Regions from separate parts of the Homo sapiens genome. Here region 1 is linked to region 2. Evidence: promoter capture Hi-C in 16 types of primary human blood cells and fetal thymus (Javierre and others, 2016). All regions are on one chromosome and are shown on one strand. Each heading gives the region's core, a stretch centred on a gene start or on the middle of the fragment in contact. The rest is flanking DNA. Distances are from core to core; before and after follow the strand shown. Region 1 holds the start of LOC105375130 (a long non-coding RNA gene). Region 2 holds the start of CARD11 (caspase recruitment domain family member 11).

Region 1 (2,817 bases), core at 1-2,500, 75 kb after region 2:
GGGAGGGAGAGAGGGGGATGTTGAGAGATAAAGAGAGGGGGATGTTGAGAGATAAAGAGGGAGGGAGAGAGAGAGAGGGAGAGGGAAGAAGGAGGGGGAGAAGAGAGGGAAGAAGGAGGGGGAGAAGAGAGGGAAGAAAGGGGCGGTGCAGAAAGACGGAGGGGGAGAGGAGAGAGAAAGAGGGAGGGAGAGAGAGGAAAGCAGGGAGGAAGGGAAAGGGAGAGGTTAAAAGAGAGATTGAGAGAGGAGAGGCTTCCTAGCACTTCTCTCCTCCGAGCGCAGAGCCCTGTTAGAACAGCCTGTCTCCTTTCATGAAGCTTCTCTGCCACCTTCTCTCCCACCCTCCTGCATTTGTCCCTTTTGGAGACAGCACTGGAATTTACCTGGAATGAGCCTTCTCTCTGCTCCCCTTGCACACGGGCTGGCTGCCAGCAGCTTTCTCCACCAGCCTCCGACAGAAACCCTGCAGAGCTTCCATTCTGCGTTCAGCCACCATCGCCTCCCACCCAGTGGTTTCTAAACAATCTCTGAGCAAGATTTTGGTTTTATCAGCCTATTAACTTCTCCCTTTTTCATTTTGGGGAAGGGGTCCACCAACATTCATCTTGTGCTGAACAGGAGCTGTTTTCTGCTCAGCTCTTGTTCTTGGGTGACCTGGCATGGAGGGATATCTCCAGACCTTGGGGAGTCGTCAAATAAGCCTGGATCTGAGAACTGAGGGATGCTAGGGGTGACATCCACACTCAGGAGGGGTGAGGCAAATGCCCCCTTCATTGTGTTCTCATGAATCTGGTTCTTCCAAAGATTTTGTTTACTAAGTTGCATTTATTAAGAAATAATGCTTGTTTTGAAGAATATTATTATTATTTTTGAGACAGGGTATTGCTCCATTGCCCAGGCTGGAGTACAGTGGTGCAATCATGGTTCACTGTAGCCTTGACCTCCTGGGCTCAAGCAATCCTCCTGTCTCAGCCTCCTGAGTAGGTGAGACCACAGGTATATACACCACCATGCCTAGCTAATTAATTTTTTTTTTTTTTTGGTAGAGATAGGGTCTTGCTATGTTGCCAAGGCTGGTCTCAAATTCCTGGGCTCAAGCGATCCACCTGCCTCAGCACCCCCAAAGTGATGGTATTACAGGCATGGGCTACTGCACCCAACCAAAATTATTCTTATTAATCAAATATGTACATCAGGCAATCGGCTCTTCCACTAGCCAGAGCTAAGCAGTGTTTTCCATGAAGTGGATCTGATTCCAGTTGAAGGAATCTAATTAGGCTCTGTATTCTAATTAGGCTGAGTGGCATCAAGCTCTGTAAAAACACAGGGGCTTCCATTAGACTTTTGGAAATACAGAGGTAAGACTAAAAGTCCCATTGCTGTCTGTATGGATGCTGGGGTGGAGCCCAGCTTGGGATAGAAGATGTTAGTGACTCTGGAAGACAGAACTCCAGAAGAAAGGCTTAAAAGCCAGAGTTATTTTGCAGTTGAGGACTTGAAACCTCCACCAGTAAGCACACTATTTTGGTACAACTGAGTGATTAAGTTCTAAGGTTTAACATCCAACTTACTGGGTGCAAATCTCACGCTTGCCCCTTATTAGTTATGTACCCATGACCTCCCTGAACCTCAGTTTTCCCCTCTGTAAAATGAGGCTGATAATACTGCAACTTGAACCAGCTGGGGTGCATGCGGATGCAAAGAACATAAACACTGACGCAAACGGAGACAGCACCTTGTATATTTCCATTTCTAGGCAGTAGTGGCTTCATCATCACATCAAATTATTATTATTATTTGAGACAGAGTCTTGCTCTGTCACCCAGGCTGGAGTGCAGTGGCGTGATCTCAGCTCACTGCAACCTCCACCTCCTGGGTTCAAGCAATTCTCCTGCCTCAACCTCCCGAGTAGCTTGGATTACAGGCGCCCGCCACCACGCCCAGCTAATTTTTGTTTTTTTTAGTACAGACAGGGTTTTACTGTATTGGCCAGGCGGGTCTGAGACTCCTGACCTCATGATCTGCCCGCCTTGGCCTCCCCAAGTGCTGGGATTACAACCGTGAGCCACCGTGCCTGGCTGACATCAAATTATAATGTGGTTGTCAACCAGAACTGAAGTGAGAAGGCAAGCATGTGTCACTTCTGGAAACCCACACAGAAGCTAAAAAAAACCTCCTTTCCTAGAAGCTTCCATTAAAACCCTCCTCAGGGCTCATTGGTCTATTTTGCAAAGCTCATGTGGTCATCTCTGAATCCATCACAGTCTAGGGGATGAGACTACATTGGTCAGATTAGGCCTGAGCTATCTACCCCTTCTCTAGAGCCAGAGGTGGAGTTAGCTCCAAAGAATGTGCCTGAATGAAGGTTGGGAGACTCACAAAGATTTAGGAAGATAACACTGCAAAGCACTAGACACACAGGGAGCACTCCATAAGTGTGAGCTAATTACTGGCCATTATTGTCATCCTGGTGAAATCTGGTTAATCAAGAGTCTTATTCTACTGAAAATGTTTATGTCCATATGCCTCCATCATCCTCACCATCATGATCCCCATCATTATCATCATCCTCACCATCTTCTTCATCATCATCTTCACCGTCATGATCACCACCATCATCACCATCATCTTCATCACCATTCCCTCTTCATCATCATGTTCATCATCATCCTCACCATCATGATCATCATTATCATCGTCATCTTCACTGGCACCATCGTTGGCCAAGTGCCTACTGTGTGCTGCTGGCACCATTTCAGACACATTGCAAACCTATATCTAATCCTTGGGACAACTTGTGAAACAGGATATCACTAG
Region 2 (2,700 bases), core at 11-2,510:
GGGATTTCCGGCACGCATTATGCACAGGCTGAGCGCTCAATAAATGTGGAATGAACGATCGACTATTTTTCTCCCCTTTCTGGTAGGTTGGTAACCTTATACCTTCAAGACGAGTCATAAATATTAGGAGAAAATGTTTTGAACTACAAATCAAAGGCTTTGAGAGCAGGCCAGGCAGAGAGAGGTCAGTTTGGTCCAAGACCAAGTTTGTGTGGGCAGCCCCGAAGCTCACAGCTGAGACCACTGTCCATGAACCTGGGTCCCCGTGACAGCCTCCAGCGGTGCTCAGAGCCCCCGAGGGACAGAAACACCCTCTCTGCCCCTATCTGCAGAGGGGGCTCAGCAGAAGGCCTGGTGGCCCCATCGGGCCTGGAGGGGCCTCCTGGGGGAGGTGGCTTTCAGGCCTGAGGCCGCTAGGACCTGCTCCGGGTTTCAGTCGGGAACCTGGGCCCTCTCCTGTGCCCCCGCCACCCCCTTTCTAGTACAGTCCCCGCGGGGGGCTGTCCTCTCCCATCTCCCAGCTCCACACCCACTTTTGGTGCGGCTGCCCTTCCTCCCTGAGCCAGGCCCCACCTTCCCAGGAGCCTCTGAGTCAGGCTGGGCTGTGGTCTGCAAACTTCCGGGCCTTTCAGGTGTCAGAAAAGTTTCTCTTCCTCCCTCTGGGGCAGGTGCACCAAGGGGCTGCAGCCTCCTGACCCCCGATTTTTTCCTGTCCAGTAGGAGGAGGTGGGGGCTTTGCTGGGCGGTGATACTCAGAGACGCTCAAAGAGACACGGAGGAGAGGCACACGAGGTGGAAAGTGAGGGAGAAAAAGGGTTGGAAGGGAAAAAGGGGAGAGGAGAGTGAGAGAGAGAAGGGGGGCAGGGGGACAGAGATGGAGAGGGAAGGATACCCCCAGCATCGCGGGACCAGCGGGAGCCACTCCCATCCCCCGACGCCCCCCCCGCCACCGTGTCATCTCACTGATGCCCCCCATCTCCTCCCCGTGCCCTCTTCTCTTCCCCCAACTCCCCGCCTCGTGCTCCCCCTCCGCCAGCTCCCCCATCCCCGCTGCGCCTACCTGGGGCGCTCATGCTCCGCCAGCCAGCTGCGCGGGGCGCCTCCTCCACGCAGGCCTCCGGCTTCCTCCAGGCGACCAGGCCCTCCGTCCCCCCGGGCCCGGAGCCGTCCTCCGAGGGGCGCCGCCCGCCCAGGGGCTGCAGGGCCGGGAGGGGGCTGCGGGCGGCGCGGGCAGGAGTCCGAAGGCCAGAGGAGGCAGGAGAGAAAAAAGGAGAGAAAGTATGTCATAGGCTGGGAGGGGCGGGGGAGGGAAATGCAAAACCCGACAGGAAATGAGACTAAAAAATGCGAAAGGTTAGAAAAAGATAAGGAAGAGAGGGAGGGGGCGGAGTCGGTGCTTCGGGAGGAGGGCGGCAAGGAGGTGGGGGTGGGAGTGGGGACAGGGCCGGGGGTGGGGGTGCTTGGGGACAGATCAGGGAGCCGGAGATGGGGAGACCAAGGCGAGTCTCAGGGCCCAGCCCACCTGCATCAGTCGGGGTGAGGCTGGACCAGTCTGGGCATCAGTCCCCACCCAGCCGTGACCCCCGGCAGAGTCCAGGTGGGGCCTTGGGAGGGGCTCTCTCCCTTCTAGGTTCTCCAGGGCACTGGCTCCCGAGATCTAGCTGAATTTCTGAAGAAATTCCAGAGCCTGTCACTGCAATGGGAGGGGAACGGGGTGCCCCACATCAAATCCTGCAGCCTCCTACACCCCAAGCCTCTTTCCTCCCTCAGCCCCTGTTCTGGAAGCTTCCTGGGCATGCCGGGTGGTCAGCACCCCTTCAAAGGCCTTCCTCACCCCGACAGCTTTGGGGTCCAAGACACCCACCATCAGCTTGTGCCCTCGATGTTCCGGTGAAGTATACTTGTAAGAGAAACTGTGATTTGGATGTCATCATTTTACTTTATTTTTATTTTTTGAGATGGAGTCTCGCTCTGTCACCCAGGCTGGAGTGCAGTGGCACAATCTCAGCTCACTGCAAGCTCCACCTCCTGGGTTCAAGCGATTCTCCCACCTCAGCCTCCCGAGTAGCTGGGACCACAGGCGTGCACCACCAAACTTGGCTAATTTTTGTATTTTTAGTAGAAATGGGGTTTCAACATGATGGCCAGGCTGGCCTCGAACTCCTGACCTCAAGTGATATGCCCACCTCAGCCTCCCAAAGTGCTGGGATTACAGGCATGAGCCTCTGCGCCCAGCTGGATGTCATCATTTTAATAATTTACCCCAAATGGCCATCGTCATGGGTGGGATGGTCCCAAGGGTTTACATGGATTGCAGACTCAAAAATCTGGATGAAAGAAAATGTGATACACACACACACGCCATGCAATACTACTCAGCCATAAAAAAGAACGAAATAAAGTATTTTGCAGCAACTTGGATGGAACTGGAGGCCATTATCCTAAGTGAAGTAACTCAGGAGTGGAAAACCAAATACTACATGTTCTTATTTAAAAGCGAGAGCTAAGCTATGGGTAGGCAAAGGCAGGCAGAGTGGGATCATGGACGTTGGAGACTCAGAAGGGGGAAGAATGGGAGGGGGTAGGGGATGAAAAATCACCTATTGGGTACAATGTATACTGTACAATGTGCACTATTCCAGTGACTGATGCACTAAAAGCCCAGACTTCACCACTATACGCTTCATCCACGTAACCCAA

The links. Contacts are between HindIII fragments. The CHiCAGO score rates a contact against its expected background, and 5 or more counts as called.
Region 1: a fragment that was not itself captured here is called in contact with the fragment with the promoter of CARD11 in region 2 in 1 of 17 cell types (total CD8 T cells); the score reaches 5.3 in total CD8 T cells.

What each region holds. Positions count from the first base shown.
Region 1 is chr7:3,117,592-3,120,408 of GRCh38, forward strand. LOC105375130 (a long non-coding RNA gene) reads right to left here and starts at 443. Exons shown (of 2, transcript XR_007060191.1): 1 at 384-443. The HindIII fragment of the contact is 1,871 bases long and covers 316-2,186 here.
Region 2 is chr7:3,042,607-3,045,306 of GRCh38, forward strand. It overlaps CARD11 (caspase recruitment domain family member 11), which reads right to left and starts at 1,261. Exons shown (of 25, transcript NM_032415.7): 1 at 1,061-1,261. RefSeq lists a silencer at 974-1,323 and an enhancer at 1,189-1,483. The HindIII fragment of the contact is 15,618 bases long and covers 1-1,783 here.